Regions from separate parts of the Homo sapiens genome. Here regions 2, 3, 4, 5 and 6 are each linked to region 1. The links are contacts of gene promoters, found by promoter capture Hi-C in blood cells and fetal thymus (Javierre and others, 2016). All regions are on one chromosome and are shown on one strand. The core of a region is centred on a gene start or on the middle of the fragment in contact, and the rest is flanking DNA. Distances in the headings are between cores, read along the strand shown. Region 1 holds the start of RBM43 (RNA binding motif protein 43). Region 2 overlaps LOC124907896 (a long non-coding RNA gene). Region 3 has its middle 92 kb from the start of EPC2. Region 4 has its middle 4.9 kb from the start of EPC2. Region 5 overlaps KIF5C (kinesin family member 5C). Region 6 holds the start of LYPD6B (LY6/PLAUR domain containing 6B).

What was found. Contacts are between HindIII fragments. The CHiCAGO score rates a contact against its expected background, and 5 or more counts as called.
Region 2: a contact is called between a fragment that was not itself captured here and the fragment with the promoter of RBM43 in region 1, in 1 of 17 cell types (total CD4 T cells). The highest score is 5.6, in total CD4 T cells.
Region 3: a contact is called between a fragment that was not itself captured here and the fragment with the promoter of RBM43 in region 1, in 1 of 17 cell types (non-activated CD4 T cells). The highest score is 6.8, in non-activated CD4 T cells.
Region 4: a contact is called between a fragment that was not itself captured here and the fragment with the promoter of RBM43 in region 1, in 1 of 17 cell types (total CD4 T cells). The highest score is 8.7, in total CD4 T cells.
Region 5: a contact is called between a fragment that was not itself captured here and the fragment with the promoter of RBM43 in region 1, in 3 of 17 cell types (total CD4 T cells, activated CD4 T cells and naive CD8 T cells). The highest score is 9.3, in total CD4 T cells.
Region 6: the fragment with the promoter of LYPD6B here is called in contact with the fragment with the promoter of RBM43 in region 1 in 1 of 17 cell types (M2 macrophages); the score reaches 5.4 in M2 macrophages.

The regions. Positions count from the first base shown.
Region 1 is chr2:151,260,405-151,263,291 of GRCh38, reverse strand. RBM43 (RNA binding motif protein 43) reads left to right here and starts at 1,429. Exons shown (of 4, transcript NM_198557.3): 1 at 1,429-1,567. The coding sequence starts at 1,565. RefSeq lists an enhancer at 1,346-1,575 and a silencer at 1,616-1,885. The HindIII fragment of the contact is 8,034 bases long and covers 1-2,887 here.
Region 2 is chr2:148,521,008-148,523,894 of GRCh38, reverse strand. LOC124907896 (a long non-coding RNA gene) reads right to left here. Exons shown (of 2, transcript XR_007087259.1): 2 at 1-2,188. Among named protein-coding and RNA genes, the nearest start is that of EPC2, 120 kb to the left of the region's middle. RefSeq lists an enhancer at 164-701. The HindIII fragment of the contact is 358 bases long and covers 1,171-1,528 here.
Region 3 is chr2:148,551,588-148,554,474 of GRCh38, reverse strand. No RefSeq gene overlaps it. Among named protein-coding and RNA genes, the nearest start is that of EPC2, 92 kb to the left of the region's middle. RefSeq lists an enhancer at 1-673. The HindIII fragment of the contact is 1,011 bases long and covers 1,013-2,023 here.
Region 4 is chr2:148,638,434-148,641,320 of GRCh38, reverse strand. No RefSeq gene overlaps it. Among named protein-coding and RNA genes, the nearest start is that of EPC2, 4.9 kb to the left of the region's middle. The HindIII fragment of the contact is 2,630 bases long and covers 78-2,707 here.
Region 5 is chr2:149,012,984-149,015,870 of GRCh38, reverse strand. The region is part of intron 25 of KIF5C (kinesin family member 5C); the gene reads right to left. Among named protein-coding and RNA genes, the nearest start is that of LYPD6B, 24 kb to the left of the region's middle. The HindIII fragment of the contact is 4,420 bases long and covers 1-2,887 here.
Region 6 is chr2:149,037,243-149,040,129 of GRCh38, reverse strand. LYPD6B (LY6/PLAUR domain containing 6B) reads right to left here and starts at 1,431. Exons shown (of 7, transcript NM_177964.5): 1 at 1,329-1,431. RefSeq lists enhancers at 939-998, 1,039-1,088, 2,302-2,361 and silencers at 1,169-1,328, 1,339-1,678. The HindIII fragment of the contact is 3,848 bases long and covers 1-2,136 here.

The DNA.
Region 1 (2,887 bases), core at 180-2,679:
CAATATCTTAGTGCCATTTGCGCACTATAACTTCAAGTTCAGTTCTAAAAGTAGAATTGCTGAGACTAAGAATATGTGCATTTTACATTTTTTTGCACTTTACATTTTGATAAAAATCTTTAGAAGTATTTGCATCCATCTATGCTTGCAGCAACTCTGATGCTTACATTCAGGCTAACACTTTCTGGTTTTGCAGATCTAGTTGTGAAAAATGGTATCTTATTATTTCAATTTACATTTCTTAGGAGTGGGATTGGGTTTCTTCATATCTGCTAGCCATCTACCTTTGTTCTTCATGCATTCATTGATTTGATTTTGAAGTTTGTCCAGAGATTCCCTGTGTCCCCACAGGCGCCATTCGGGGTTCCTGTGCTAAGGCATGGACAAGGTGGTGAGCTCTCTGCTGGCAGGGACCTGGCGCTCTCATCCTGTGTCCTTAGCACCCGGCAGAGGTCCAAGAGGGCTCCTGGTCTGGGCTGGGAAGGTGACCAACACGGCGTTGGGGGTTGAGGTGGGGGTTGGGGAACTGGGGTAGGTTGTGCAGAGGAAAAGGCCCAGGTGAGCGGTGGGGGAAGGGGAAGAAGTCTGGACAGATAATAAGGGCGTAGGAAAGACATCCAGATTTCACTGAGTGCAGGGCTTTTTAAAACTGATGTTAGAAAAACTTGATTTGCTGTTGTAAAAAACCATCTGTGTGAAGTAGAAATTGATATCAATAACATGATAGAGAATACGTTCTAAAAAGTAAAGGTAGCTGGATGTAAAATTCTGGCAGAAGTTTAATATCCTAGATGGTTAGTTTGAGGCCAGCAACTAATGAGGATAAAAGCCTTCTCCATGGAAAATTTTGGACAGTTATCTGGAGAAATATTACAGTGCGCATCAACCAAATTGAAATGTTTTCAAAAGTGTTGTAAAGTTTCATGTAGTAAAAAGGTTTTAGCCACATGCCCTTCAATTTCATGGCATCGAATATATAAACACAGAAGAGAGCATGCATGCAAGATATTTAACTCCCTTACATGATAATGCATGCGATTCAAAACTATCATGACATCTAGGGCTCTCTGCAACTACGAGATGATTGATGTTAGGAAAAGCGTAGCCCCCCAGTATCAACACAGGAAGCGGCCACCACCTACTATGTGTTTTCCCTTTTTGCGTTTTTTCTTTTTTTAAATCAACTCTGCCGTTGTTGCTGCTGCTTAGCAAAACGGGTAAAAACAAAATTGCAATCACTGATGCATCACCCAGAGAATTCCCAAATTTCCTGTCGAGGAATCCTCTCGGCCTCTCTCCAGAGTGCTTCCACAAGTTGCAAAACTACGGAGGGCGTCTGGGCAGGCGCTGGCAACAGCACTCCTGAGTCCGAGCTCCCACTCAGAGGCCACGAGGTCGCAGAACAGCCGGATCGGGTGGAAGGACCGCCCTTTTCTTCGTAGCCTCCAAGGGAGCTGGAACAAAAAACGAAACCAAAACCTGCCTGCTCGCTCCTCTCCCCATCGCCTGCGTTCCGCTGGTTGTGGGCTTTCTGCGGCCGCTGAGGGCGCGTCTCCCCTCCGCCATGGCAAGTTGCTTTTGCTTTGGGTTTTGCGGTGCAGGTCCGTGCCTGTACCGTCGCCATGGTCCCCTAGAAGGGCGCGGAACCGGGCGCGACGGGCCAGGGTGCAGGGCTGCGCGGGAGGGGGCGGCGCACGGAGGGGCCCCAGGGACCCCGGGGGCCCCGGAGAGCCGTCCACCCCGGCGGGCAAACTCAGGTCAGCCTCGCTGCACCCTTCCCAGGTGGCGGCATTGCGCGCTCCTGAAATTCACGTACGGCGGTGCAGTATAGGCCCGCTCCAGAGGCTCAGGACTAGGCTGTCACCTCCCACACCCACTGCCCAGGCGACGGGGACGCCGCCGTTCGTCGAGGAGCTGCTTCGCAGGCTGTTAGGGCTTAACTGTTGTCCTCCCACGCCTCGGGGGGAACAAAAGTGGCCTGATTAGCCAGAAATGGAGGTCACAGCTGCCTTTTGAAAAGGGCTAATAAGAACGATTCGAGCCAAGGACGCAAGTCAGGAAGACATCCTCATGTCTTATGTCTGCCTTGGTGCGAATTCTTGTCTTAGCAAATTCAAAATTTATCCTTCTGTGTTTTGTTTTGTTTCCATCAATCGCTTAAAAGCCTTGGCAAGGCCTTTAATTCCTGCTCTGAAATGCTAGAGTCCCGGAAATGCAAAAGCAAGTACGTTTTTGTTGACCTGGTGGCGGTAGAGGCGTCGTCATTGAAAATAAACAACTGATTTTGAGAAAATCAATATAAACAAATGCAGTCAATGAATCTTCTGTTTCTTCCCAATGCCTTACTTACAAAAGTAAAGTTTTGCTATATACTTTTTGCTTTCTGATAAGATGGCCAAGTCTGTTATAACACAATACTGATGCAAGGAAATGCGCCATCACGTTAGTATGTCTTGGCTAAAAGCTGCTCGTTTCAAAGTCCTTGAAAGGACTGTCTTTCTCTAGGCATTTCTTTATCTTAATCGTGGGTAGAAGAGATGAACAACCCTCATTATTCATAATTGACCTCAGTAAAATTATCTATGTTAGCCATACTTTCTCCAACCTATGAAAGGGAGTTAAGGACAAATATTGGCAAGTCATTGAAGTACTAATTCATTAGATGATTCATAGAAACTAGTTCTTACCAAACAAAATTTACATCTTTATGTTTTTTTCTTCTAAAAATACTGGTTCAGGGAGAAGTTTCTTTGATTTTAAAGATAAATTACCAGTAGACATTCGAATAAAGAAATATGGTATTAGTACTAATGAGGGCATAGAGCTGAAGTAAGATTTCCTGAGTTTAAATTGATTGCATGTTTTTCTTTGATATTGTTGGGGTGCA
Region 2 (2,887 bases), core at 100-2,599, 2.7 Mb after region 1:
ATGGCTTTTCAAGAAAAAAATTTCTTTTAGGTACGTCTCTTCTTCCCAGATATCTTCCTGGTCCTCCTATGGAAAATGGGGTGGGTTTGAGGGCAGAGCACCTGCCCTTTTCCACTTTCTACTGGCTTGGGAGACCTGCTGCCACCCCACTTCCACCATGATCTGGCTTCTGCTTACTTTCTATGCTTACTGTCTACCCCTCTTCTTCCTTATGTTACATTCAAGACTTATTAAATCCCTTACAGTTCCCAGAAAATCATGCTGTTCTCTACCCCTCCTTACCCCTCAGCCCCACTCCTGATCTCTGCACTTCTTTTCCTCTTTCTTGAATGTCTTTTGCCCCTGCTGGCCATGCCTGAACTCCTATTCTTTCATAAGTCACTTAACTCGATTTATTTAAGCCTCCCAGTGTTCCAAAGCCCATTGTAATGCATACCTGGTTTGTGGCTCCTGTCAGTGTCTTGCAATGACTGTTTCCATGTCTTTCTCATCTGCTGGAACATGAGCTCTTTTTTTCACTTTATCTCAGAGTTAAGATGATCTATAAATTCTTGAATGACTGAACAAACAAATGCAACCCCTTAGAAACCTAGGCATTACCTGGAAGCATGGAAATTTACCCAAATTGCTTTATGGATGTTTTTGTTGTTCACCTGGTTTAGTCTTTAGGATTATAAAGCCTCCAGAGCTCTGGGTTCGGATTAAAAATCTGCCATGAGCCAGTTTCCCTCAGGGCTGGGCTCCTAAGGGAAAATGCCTCAGAGTGGCTAACTATAGGATCCCTGGGAAACATTTGTCCTTGTGCCTTGAAAAGGCCTTAGCACATGAGTCAGGATACCTTACAATTTCACTTGTACAGTGTTTGCAAAGCACCTTCATATGTGTGTTCATGTGAATTTCGTGATAACACTGTGGGGTAGGCAGGGTAATATCATGGCCTAAACAGATGCAAAAACTCAGGTTCAGAGAAGGTGAGGCACTTGCCCAAGCTCACACAGCTAACAAGAGAGCTGAAAATAGAACACAGGTTAGCTCCTGCTCCACAATACCATGACCTTATCAATGAGTTGACAAGAACCATCCTCCTTGGGTACTTGTCAAGAAAGCTGGGAGGCTGGGAATGGGTGGAGTACACGTGCGTGTGTAGAGTCAGGAGGCCTGACCCAAGCTTGGGAAGTTCTGCAATGGCTTCGGTGTGCCCTGTGGTTATCCCCTTGTATACTGGGTAGGTGACTCTCCTGAGCAGGTGACAGAGCCTGGCAGTGATCCTGCCTCGGATCCAGATAAATATATTTGGATAGAAACTTTGAGCTTGTAGACAGATCAAGATTACTCACATAACCTGATATAAAGCACAGCTTCCATGTTAGTTACCAGATTTTCAAGAATTCTTTCCTTCTATTCTTCTTTCCTTTACCATTTAATTAGAATTGATCATATGCAGCTGAAGAGGAAAACCTGGGTTCTTCTTTGAAGAGCTCATTTTGATGGTTTGGTTCCATCACTGCCTATGCTCATTGGAGAAGCTTATTAGGACCTTCCAGTATTCTGTCACTCAGGCCAAGACTGCCAAAGTTGAATGCACACACCCTGGCCATGATGCAAGGCAATCCACTGGGAAGAGGGAGGAAAATATAAACCTATCAGTTCATCTCAGTTACCTAGTTTCTATTTTGTGTGTTTTATAACACATATGATATATTAATTCAGTAGCACACATAAAGTACATATGCACATATGTATATATGCATAGTATGTCCTCAATTTTATTTTTACTTTACTGATAGGAATTCTTGAAGAAAAGTTTGGAGACCATTGCCTTAGAGAAAGGAAAGCTATGCTCTGAGACAGGAACCACACAGCTCTTTCGCTGTGTTCTCTGCTCAGAAAGCTGCGGGGTCTTCACAATGGCCATTGTCATGGCTTGATTCTTTTGGCCAACATGGTTGCCTTAGAAGGCACAAGGCACACACTTCCCCTACCACCCCCACCCTTCACCCCCTTCAGGATCCCCTGGACATTTGGGAAGAGCCAGGAAACCAAGAGAAATGGAGAAGGAAATGGTCTCTTCTTGCCTTTGCTGACTCTTGCCTAGACAGACAGCTTGTCCAGAAGCAGCCCAGTGCATCTCTTCATTCCAATTCTTGCATGCTTTTTTCTCCCAGCTCTGGTGAATGTTTGCTTCCCACTTTGCCAAATAAACCAGAACAGTGACAATTAGCCTGAAATCACAAGCTCCTGACCTCCATGCTTATTTAGGAATTCAAAGGAATCCACCGATTCTAAATAATCCTGATTTGATTGGAAAAGGGAGACAGAGTCTGTAAAAGGTCACAGGAGATTTTCCCTAAGGTTATCTCCCTGACCACCAAAGTTATTTAAGATTAACTTGGCAGGGAAAGCTGTGTTCTAGGGGGACCTGGTCACAGTTCAGGGACCAAAGCCTCAGGCCACCAGTCCTTCTGGCTGTGTTCCTCATACACAGTGTTCTGCAGTGGGAGCTGGAAGGACAGGAAACCCCACAGAGGCTCTGCTAAAACCCTCACAGAGGCTCAGCTAAACCTACCCCCTCTACCGGTGCTGAACACATTCTGCCCCCATCTTTTAGCAAGATATGCCCAAGTCTTCAGTCTGGAAAAGTCTAGGTACAGAATTTAGACATGAACTTCCAATTAAGAAATAAATAATCATCCTTAATAGCACTTAAAAATACTACCACTTACAATATTAGTGCTTTCTTCTCCCCTTTTAAAAGCATTCTTCCATGTATTATCTCTTTTCATTTTTATGGTAGTCTTTTGAGTACATCTAATCCTAAGATAGTTATGAACACCCTCTTACACCTACTCTCTTACTCCCAAATCTTCTGGGAACTTCCTGACTCTTG
Region 3 (2,887 bases), core at 269-2,768, 2.7 Mb after region 1:
TCTCAGATTTAGTATGCATCAGAATCACTTGGAGGAGGGCTTGTTAAAACATAGCTTGTTGGGTCCTACCCCAGAGTTTCTAACGCAGTAGCTCTGGGGTGGGGCCCAAGAATTTGCATTTCTGACAAGGTCCAGGTGATGGTGATGCTGCAAGTCCAAGGACCACACTTGGAGAACCACTGATGGAGAGCGTTGTGGGTCCTTGTAAGGAGTTCAGTTATACTCGAAGTGTGATGGAAGCCATCAGAAGATTCTAAGCAGGGGAGTGGCAAGAGCTGATGTTCATTTTCCTCTGCTATCCCCAGAGGAGCAGACCTCTCCAGTCATCCACTATCACCTGGACTTGCATCCCCTTCCTGCTGTGCTCGTCACCTGATTTGATCCAGTTTCCCACCCATTCTCTTCATTTCCTCCCTAACATTTCCACTGTGCCTTCTGGAAGCCCCAATCCTTGACTCTCAATTTTGCCTGTCCTCAGCCTACATCAGAGCCTCCCTCTTTCTTCCTTGCCTTAATTGGAGCCTGGCTGGTCCCAAGAGTACAACATTCACACAGCTGTTTCTGGCAGAGCCTGTCTGATATCTTACAGTCTGATATCTTACAAACCTTAGGGCCTGGAAGGAGTGTTGGTGCCTGCTTGTTCTCTACTGTTGCTCCTGGAACTTAACCTCTGTTACCTTTTACAAAATGTCCTACCCATTAAAAGCTCTGGCTTCCTGACTATACCACGCGATCACATGTCTTTTCTTTTCTTCCATGTGATCCATTCACTCATTCACTGGACTGCACCTCCTGGCTCCCCATCTTTTTCTCTGCATAGCCTTTCTTGACAATCTCATTAAAGTAACCATACAATGTCCCATCTAGCAGCCTGGCTTCTCAGTTTCCTGGACCTTCTCATCTCGAATGACGTTTTCTCCCTCCACTCCACCTCAAGGTCATAGCCTGAACCTTGTCACCACCAGAAACTGTTCTGCTGCTGCAAGCCCAAAGCCCCACTCTCTCATAAGCTTTCTGTCCTTGACACATACTTGAGCGTCTACTGTGACAATTCTTCAACTCTGTTGAGATCTCTTTTCTGTTGGCTCCACCGCCTTTTACAATTTGTCAGTCACCTTTCTGTTCACTCCTCGTGTCCAGCTTAGGGCTTATGGTTCATCACCATAAACAACTTCCTTCCAAAACTCTCATCCTCAGAATCCCCTTGCCTTTCCACGGAGTCTCCTACAAAATACTAAGTGAGCCCACCCATGTATCTCTCCACTCAAGCAGCTCGACATTACTATGGAAAAGTCAAGCAAGCAGGCTGCTTTCACTTTCAGTTCATCGCAGACCTCAAAGGGGTACTTGGAGCTACTAAGCAATATTGCTGTGTTTCTCTGTTAAAACCAGCATTCGTATTCTTCTAGGGTACTTTTTCATTCCTTTTTTATCCTTAAAACTCCCACTGCCCTTCCCTGCTTTTTAGTCTCAGCTGATGAACTCTCCTCGTTTCACTGAGGAAAGAGATGCTGTCCGATGGAAATGCTCACATTTCCCCACCTAGAAACCTACAAGCACAGCCACACTTGCTGGCCTCCTCTGCCCCTTCCCTGTCTGCTCAGCTGTGTCCAAGTGGCCTCCTATCATCCATTCAGTCCCTCCCATCAGCGTCTCCCTTGCTACTGTATCGTTCCCATTGGCACACACACCTGCTTCAGTATCGCCCATCTGTTTCTTCTGTAATTTATATCTGTACTTCCAAATAATACAGCTATTTTTAGGTTCTTCAATTTTAGACACTTATTGCCTTCCTGCACCCTCCTTGTGCATATTTCCCCTCCACCCACCCTCCCAACATCGTTACAGCACCATTTTTGGCTAAATCAATGTACTGTGCTAGCATTACTATAAGTACTCACAGCTGAACCATATAGGCTGTTATTCTTTTATGGGTCAACTTTGGTTTTCTTGGAATTACTAATTACCTCATTTTTTCATTGCTTAGTCTTCCAAATATTAATTACTAAGTTTTTGCTAAGCTTTCCAATCAAATTGCAAAAGTCCTCTCTTGAGTCACAGGTAACCATTCAAGACTGCTTCTTCACCCCCAAATCCAGCTACCGCCAATGAACAGCTCTGCTGGGAGTGTCACCTGTGCATGTGTGTGGCCTCTCCAGTGTGGTCAGGCTAGGGGAGTGGGACTTCTCACGCCGCAGTTCAGGACTCCAAGAGTGAGTATTCCTGAGACAGGGTGGAGGTCTCACGGCCTTTTATGACCTTACCTGGAAGTCACATAGGGTTGCTTCTCCCCTGTTGCAATGATGGAAGCAGTCAAAACCTCACCCAGATCATGGGGAAAAAAGCACAAAGCTATCCTCTCTATGGAAGGAATGTTCAGGAAGATTTATGGCCATGTTTTAAAGCTGCCACAGAGACAACTTATGTGAGATAATACTAAAATTGTGTTGAAAAATAGTCCAAACTTTTTCAAAGAATTTTCCTTTTTTTTTCTTTTTTGACACAATGTCTCACTCTCTTGCCCAGGCTGGTGTGCAGTGGCATGATCTCAGTTCACTGCAACCTCCGCCTCCTGGGATCAGGCGATTCTTGTGCCACAGCCTCTCTGGTTGCTGGAATTACAGGTATGCGCAACCACACCCAGCTAATTTTTGTGTGTGTGTGTGTATTTTTAGTAGAGATGGGGTTTCACCATGTTACCCAGGGTGGTCTGAAACTCCTGGCCTCAAGTGATCTGCTCGCCTAGGCTTCCCAAAGTATTGGGATTACAGGTGTGAGCCACTGCGCACAGCCAATAATTTTCATTGTTGTATATAGAAAATACAGAATTTCATGGCGATATCAGAAACATAAATACTGTACAGTATTGTCATGAGCTTAAGTAGAA
Region 4 (2,887 bases), core at 143-2,642, 2.6 Mb after region 1:
AATTGGGTTAGTATGTGAACTGCATCTCCACCCCTCCCCCTTATGTTCCCAGGAATGAGCCTAGTACTAATAAAGCTTCGTTGTTTTCCATATGTAATCTGAATGTGGGGTCTGCATTCATTACAATCAACTGGAATCAGTTCTGTGGTTCCAGTGCCCTTTTCTGAGGCAGCTCTGCATCTTTGAGACATAGGGACAGAGACTACACTGAGAGGTGACCTGCCAAACATCTACTTCTACCTCTGCATTTGCCACCGTGGGAATAGCAGATGGTAAATAAAAATTTGTGACTGTGGCTCAGTTTCTTAGCAGCATCGCTCCTCTCAGACCTGGTTGGAATCACAGGGTGCCACCTTGTGTATAAGCTGACGATTTACTTCCCAGCTCCACAAAGGATCCAAATAGACTCCAAAATAATCAGCCTGAAAGCTCTGCATTTTGGTAACTAAAAAAAAAAGAAACAGATTTGAAAACACACAGCTCCAGAGGGTCCACAACACCCAATTTTGAATTGCACTGACAGCCTGTCTCATTTGTTGCCCCACCCGGACCGTAAAACACAACCAGTGCTCCACATTTGGAATAGATTGACGCTGCTCACTCAGGCTTTTGGATGGGGATAAGAGAAATAAGTAAAGCTCTTGTGATGAAGCTAACAAATCTGACTTGGACAGTTATGTGTGTCCAAACAGCAAGCAAGCTATGTAGATGTAATTTCAGGATTTTTTTTTTCTTTCTTTTTTTTTTTTTTTTTTTTGAGATGGAGTCTCTGTCACCCAGGCTGGAGTGCAGTGGTGCAATCTTGGCTCACTGCAACCTCTGCTTCCTGGGTTCAAGCAATTCTCCTGCCTCAGCCTCCTGAGTAGCTGAGATTACAGGCACATGCCACCACGCCTGGCTAATTTTTGTATTTTTAGTAGAGACAGGGTTTTGCCATGTTGGTCAGGCTGGTCTTGAACTCCTGACCTCATGATCTGCCTGCCTCAGCCTCCCAAAGTGCTGGGATTACAGGAGTGAGCCACCGTACCTGGCCTGGACTTTGGATTTTTGAGAGGCACTAGGTTCCATTGAGCTGATGAATATGAGCCTACTTGTTTTAATAAAATAAGTAAAATAATTATTTTTAAAAATAAGTACTTATTTTAATAAAATTGGATGATAGTGAGGTTTTAAAAATGACCGAGTTTGGAACAGAAATACAATTGTTGGAGCAAGGCCACGGGAGGTTAAAAAATAGGATCCTTTCCAATCCAGCTACCTTGCCCTTGAGAAATTCCACACTTGGAGGAAACCCACTCTAAATTCAGCACAGCTGTCATTCAGCTGAAGACACTATTACATTCATGGAACTAGCTGGATGATTCATATTATTTTCATAAGGGTGTTGGAGTGGAGATCCTGGGGCTTTGGGGGCTACAGATGCACACCCACTGTTGGTTTAGGGCTCCTGAAATGTATATTCTTCACAGTTTCTGTCTCCATTGGTGCATCCTGTTCTCCTGAGGCACCTCTGAAAGGTAACTTGGAAGGTTGTTTCAATCCCTGTGAAGGCAGTTCAGTCTCACTGACTTTGCTGGCCCATCTCAGACAACAAGCAGGCTCAGAGCACCAAGCTCACTGGGGTCCAAGTGTTAGCTAAGAGGAGTCCATTGTTAGGAAACTTGGGTTGCTCGTCTAAACATGGTTCCTCTCACCTATTTTTTTAAATCTCTACCACCAACAAAAGATTAAATGTTTATAACCACAGATTTGTGAATGGCGTATGCAGCTGGAATCCTGAATTGAAGAAAATCGGTGAATTGATTTATTAACAGCCATGCCTTACTGATCTGATCTTTTGTTGTCCCCTAGAACAAAATAACCTGTTTCCTAAGAAAAAGGTTCTGATAGTAGCATACTGAGAGCCCCTTAAATTCCACAGTGACTTGTTAGGAGGTAGAAAGGAAAGCCACTTTGTTTTCTCCAAATTAGAAGACAGATTTACTTGTCTTTCCTCAGCTATTAAAGGTGACTTTGGCAGGGAAAGAAACAGAGACCACTGAAATAAAACACACTAATTACTTAGAAATTTACTGACTCACCCATACCTCTCACCTTGTTTCAGAAAGGATTTCAAGTGGCTTTTAAGAGTTGCTAAAATATGCTAGGATAGCATTTGGGTTCTAAATTTCCTAGTAACACGAAATTAGGAAACTTTGTCAGCTTCACAGCTCACAATATCCATTAGATAAAATGACTGCTCAGGAGAGTTACAGTTGTTCCTGGTACTCATTGCAATGTCCAAGAGTCTTTATAAATAGAGCAACTAGGTGATATAACAGATATTTCAACAGTAATCTTACAATAGATACAAAAGGGGCATCTAAGGGCTGTTTCTTATAGTGACCCTCCATATACACTGACGGCATTATACGCAATCCAGCACAACCAATTCTGCAGAGGTTAGAATGGAGCTGGATGTCTGAAGCCATGAGCCCCACCCCATACAGATCTGGGAGTATGAATGGACCCTACGGCCCCCAGGCAATCCTGCCTGAAGATTCTTTTTCTCTCAACTGTCTCCTGATAAACTGTCCTGCTGAGAGCTCAAAATTGTGCACTATTACAATTGCCTGAAGTGCAGCTCTTCTAAATGCCCAATTAAGGGCAGGCCCACACGCCTTAAATGACCATGTTGTGGAGGATATTTTCTGGAAAGAAAGAAGCTTAACAAGAACCAGTGCCTGAATAGAAAGCTCTCCTCCCGCTCTTGCAATGAGCTAAGGGTGTATCCACTGGCAAAGCCAAGAGGTAGTCTGACCTTTGCATAAATAAGGTGTGCATTCCTATCTCAGGTTAGATGGCATCAGGGGGTGGGGAGGTAGGGAAAGGTTGTTCTTGCACACTG
Region 5 (2,887 bases), core at 204-2,703, 2.2 Mb after region 1:
CAGCCTTCTTGTCTGATTCACTGTGAAACCAAGTACAGAGCTAGGCTCTCAATGCCTGATCCCACTTAGCCGGTAGGAAACCTAAAGCTGACAGAAATCAAGTAACTTGCCCAATGTCACATGGTTGCACTGCACTGCCCCATATGTAGCTCTGGGGTTTGAAAAAGATCATCTCCTCCTGAGGCAGCCCCCTGTGGATTTGAACCAGATAAGATCAAAGCCAGCATTATCCTGGGTTCTTTTGATTTTTGTATATTGGCATCTTCATAGGCTCTGAAACCTTGAGAATAAACCAAAATACTCATTATGGCTATAATTCTTGAACCCTGAAATGAAGCAGAAGGAAATTCCAAAGATATCCAGCTGTAAGAATATGTGCTTTGACTCCACAGGAGGGCTGGGAAGACACAATTGAGATCATTTCTACCCAGGGAAGAGATACTTCAGAATGAAAATCCCAAAGGTCAGGAAAGACTGTCTCAAAAAGGCTTTGCTCTCATCTAAGCAATGAATTCCATATTTTCAATTACTTTTCAAAAAGGATTTAGCATTTCTTTACTTTTCAATTGCAATTCCTGAATCTGTTGATTACTACCCCTTTTTAATCTCCACTGACAAATGCCCAGTCATTTCTTAAAAATAGTCATAGCTTGTAGATAAGTAAATTATATATATATGTTTTTTAGATAGGCTCTCACTTTGTCACCTAGGCTGGAGTGCAGTGGCACAATCTCGGCTCACTGCAACCTCTGCCTCCTGGGTTCAAGCAATTCTCCACTTCAACCTCCCAAGTAGCTAGGGTTACAGGTGTGCATGTCTACGCCCAGCTAATTTTTCTATTTTTAGTAGGGAAGGATGTTTCACCATGTTGGCCAGGCTGGTCTTGAACTCCTGACCTAAAGTGATCTGCCCACCTCAGCTTCCCAAAGTGCTGGGATTACAGGCATGACCCGCCATGCCCGGCCAATATTATCTTTAAAAGCCCTTATGTCAGTTCATAGCAACAACTAGGATACTCAGTTAGAAATAGGCCTTCCCTATCCAGTCGCCAGGATTTATTGCTATAGAGGAACTAAAAACCATTTAGTAACAACTATATGAATTAAAGGACACTATAAACCAACATGTATCAACTACCACCTTCTGCAGTGCTCATCTATACTAGCAGCTAACATTTTTATTGAGCAATTGTTATGGGCTTAGAAGCATGACCTCATTTAAGCCTTCTGTCAATGCCAATGACCAACATAAAAGATTTTCCCCATTTCATATATGAGGAAACAGACCTGAGTTTAAGTAACTTGAAGGAAGTGGAAGACCTAACACCTGAACCCAGGTCCCTTGTCCAATGCCAGTCCCCTCAGCCACACTGCCATCCTGAGAGCTGTAAGAGGGGGCCTGTTTATTTTGTAACCTGGTGAGAGAAGCACCTAGTTACAGAAGCTGTGTCTGAAGCTGTGTGGAGAAGGTATGTCAAGGAGGCTCTGAATTCAGATAAAACCATCAAAACCACTTGTAACACTTTGAGTAAAGAAACAAATTGCCAGCTGGGTGCAGTAGCTCACGCTTGTAATCCCAGCACTTTGGGAAGCTGAGGTGGGGGGAATCACTTGAAGTTAGGAGTTCAAGACCAGCCTGGCCAACATGGTGAAACCCTGTCTCTACTAAAAATACAAAAACTAGCTGGGCATGGTGGCACATGCCTGTAATCCCAGCTACTCGGGAGGCTGAGGCAGGAGAATCGTTTGAACCCAGGAGGCAGAGGATGCAGTGAGCCAAGATCATGCCATTGCACTCCAGCCTGGGCAACAAGAGTGAAACTCCATCTCGAAAAGATGATGATGGGTTGATGGGTGCAGCAAACCATCATGGCACATGTATACTTATGTGACAAACCTGGACATTGAGCACATGTATCCCAGAACTTAAAGTAAAATTAAAAAAAAATGCCACAATGGGTGAGGGTGGTTCTTTCACTCCGAAGGTCTTGAAAGTCTCCCCAGACCTACTGATTTTCACTCTTCTGTATGAGAAGAGGCTACACTGGTGATGAATGGCCAGCATTTGGTTGTTTGGAGCCTACATAAAATATGGGACTGGCAGACCTTTGTTGGAACCCATGAAGAAGGTGACTGTCCCACTGCACAATCTCTGGACCCCAGAATCCCTGGACCAGTATATTTAGTAAGGCCTTGCTGGGAAACACACATACACCTCTATGTGTGCTTTCATCAAATGAGGTGATGCCTATATTACATCTAGCCCAGTGCTGCAGCATATTAGGTGGTCCATAATGCACAGTATGCCAGCTGCCCACCTCAACATCCACTCTCCCTGTCCTTGCTCTAAAAGCATTACCTTTCTTTGGGGTAGTGATGTGCCCAGCTAAAAGACTACCTTTTCCAGCTAGATGTGGCCATGTGGCTCAGTGCTGTCCAGGGAAAGGGAGGCATCAGCATTGCATGGGGCTTCAGGAAGGCTACTTAAAGGAGATTCATTCAGGACGGCTGCTTTTGCCTCTTCTCTGCTTCCTCTCTGGTTGCTAAAGTTGGAATGTAGGCATGATGGCTGAAACTGAAGTCATTTGGTGACCTTGAGCTGGCCTTGAGTTCAGGAGGCAGGCACGTGCTTAACCTAGTTAAGAGGCTAGGTTTCTGTTTTCACTGTGGAGATTCTTAACTACTGATGTACCACCTTCAAATTTCCCTTACATAAGACAGACGTAAACCGCCATCCTGTATAAACCATGGAGAGTTTTCAAACTTCGATGAATATCAGAATCACCTGGAGTACTTGGTTAAAAAGACAAACAAAGCCCAGGCCCTTCCTCTTCTAAGGAGCCTGGGCCTCTGGGTGCTCAAGGATGCTCACATCCACCAAAGTTCGA
Region 6 (2,887 bases), core at 182-2,681, 2.2 Mb after region 1:
AGGAGCAGATAAGCCTGAAGGTGCAAGTCCTATTTATCGTCCATACTAAGAACCAGTAAACACAGAGAGAAAAACAGCTAAGATATACAAGAGAGAGAACTAGCCCTGGAACCTTGTATGAGCCTCTGGAACTAGCTATAGCTTTAAACTGAAACCCTCGACCTTTTCATTTATGTGACCCAATCAATTTCTACATAGTATAAGGCAATTTTCAAGTGACCAAAACCCAACCCAAAGAAAACAATTCTGACAAATACGATGGGTAATGATGAGGGCAGTCTGACAACACCCCCTCCATCTGCAGGGCCCGTGCACTGGCAGCCCTAATCTTGGCCTCTGTGATGCTGTCAGCAAGTAAGGCATCCTGGAGGAAGCCTAACCATGAACAAGTCAGGGTGGGAAAGAATGCCCCCACCCCACAACACACACATCACCACATCAACACAAAGGGGGAAAAATCAAGCAGTATGCTATGTACTCCATGAACATCATATAACCTAAGTCTGTTGTAATGATTATAATATTAATAATACCTATTTTACTTTAAGGGAACTGAGGCTCAGAGCAGTTCAGTAACTTGCCCAAGGTCACACAGCTAGTTACTGGAATTTAAATAGCATTCTAGACTTTTCCCACTCTCTGATCCCCTGGCCTTGGGAGGTGGACAGCACCCCTCCACCCACCAGCTCCCCCCAAACGCCACAGGGCATACAGACCTGAAGCCTCACAACCCAAGCCCCCTGGAGTCAGAGCAGCCTCCAGACCCGGCTTTTGAGAAGCCCCAGGTAACTAACCAATGTGTAAGGTAGGTTATTCAACAACAAAAGTAAAGAGCCGGGGCAAGGGAAGCGGCGGCACCCAAGCTGGTCGCGCGTGAAGCGCTGCAGGGGGAAACACTGGAGCTGGCACGCTCGCTCTTGGCCCCACGATCGGCCTTGAACCCCAGCCCCAGCTCCGCGCTCTCTCCAGCAGTTTGACCCCCAGTATCTCCTCTCCCCTCGGCTCTGCCGAAGTCACTGGCCCCGCAGGGCTCTGGACGATTAGAGACCCACACCGCTCCAGCCTTGCCCCGGCCCCCTGCTCCCGTCCCGTCCAGATGTTGGCAGCTGCTCGCCTCGAGGCAGCGACCAGACCCCGACCCCGCCACTGCGCCGCGGCCCCGCGGCCCCGCGGCCCCGCGGCCCCGCGAGCTCCTGGCTGCCCCAGCGCGCCCAGAAGGGGCGCAGCGCATCTCCCGCCGCAGTCGCGCGGCCCCGCACTCGCTCCGGCGCGGGGTGAGCCGTCCCGAACCCACCACCGCCCCCGCCTGCTGCGCTGGCCCAGCTCACCTCGCCGCCCGCGCCCACCGAGCCTCTCGGCGCCCTCACCCGGCTCCCGGCCCAGGCTCCCAGCGCACCCGCCTGGGGCCGGCGTTGGCTGCTACCGCGCGGGGCGGGGCGCGGCTCCTCCCTGCCCTGAACCACCTGGGGCGCGGGAGGGGGCCGGGCCGGGACAGGTGAGCCTCGCCCGCGAGGGAGCAGCCCCGGGCCCGGCTCCGCTGGGAAACCGCAGGGCTCCACCACGAGGTTGAAAGGAGGCCCAGGCGGGCGGCAGTGTGGTAGTGGCCAGCGCTGGGGAGGCGGCAAGGAGCCTGTTCCCACCCAGCCAGCCCGGCTCAGGAAGTGAAAGAAGCACGGGATTCGGACCCCACCCAGCTTAAAGAGGGGAGGGTCCAACCCCTTTCTTCCTAGAAAACCAATGTAGAAACGAGGAGTGCAGACCCTCGGGAGTGAAAATGATTGGGCCAAGGGTGCAGGTGAGTTAGTTCAGGATTGGAAGAACTCTGAAAGACCTTTTTTGACCATTCCATCCAACCCCGTCCCCACCTTGCCCACCCGTCAAGTGATTCCCTCCCCCTTTTTAAATAATGACATTAAGCTATAAATAAGATAATTTCATATAGTGACGTCCTCCCCACCCCTGGACGGTAAGCCCCAGGAGAGGCAGGAACCTTACCCGTCCACTACTGAATCACCAGAGCTTTGAAAACTCAGGGCATTTAATACCTGATGAACAGACTAGGTGGCGCCCAGTCTTTTGCGTCCAGCGTTAGACTGGTCCCCTCGGCCCAGAGCTGCTCCAGCATCATTCCAAGCTTACTAGGGAGAATCCAGAGGCAAGCTGTTAGATTCCGGGCCACCTGTCCTCTCTCTACTGCTTACTCCCCACCCACTGCCAGCCAGGCAGCTGGGATGTGGGAGGTCTACACTCCCAGGGCACCTTATAGTGGTCAAGCAAATCTTTAACTTCTGAAGATGCCACAGACAGGAGAACTCTGAAATAAAACACTGTCCGGCCAGCCTTGCACTGTGGAAACACAGCTCAGAGTATGGGCCACTGACCCAAGATTCCATGGCTGGTAGCAAAGCTGATCCTGGGTCTGCATTTCTAAAGACAGTTGGCTGGTCTGGGGCCTTTGAGGGGCTGCTGGTTATGCCTGCAGTGGGGAAACCTGGGTACAGAACTTCTGCAGAAGTGGGGTCTGGGTTTGGTCCTCTGCTGAGACTTCTAATCTGTCTTTCCAGACCTCTGAGGTCAAGCATCTCCTGAGCCAGCTTGCATTTATTGAGGCCCCTGACAACCGCAAAAACAAAAACAATGGTATTTTTAGGTGTTCCATTTAACAAATGGCCTTCACTCACACACACACACACACACACACACACACACACACACACACACGAGGTAATGTGTCATGCTGCTCCTCACATGTTAATTTCAAGACTCGTTAAAAAAATCCATTCCGTGAAAAAATTCATTTCACTGCAGAAAGCACTGTACAACTTTAAAGTTGTATGGAGAACATTCCTTCTTATGACTATTTCAGTACACTTCCGTGACTATATAT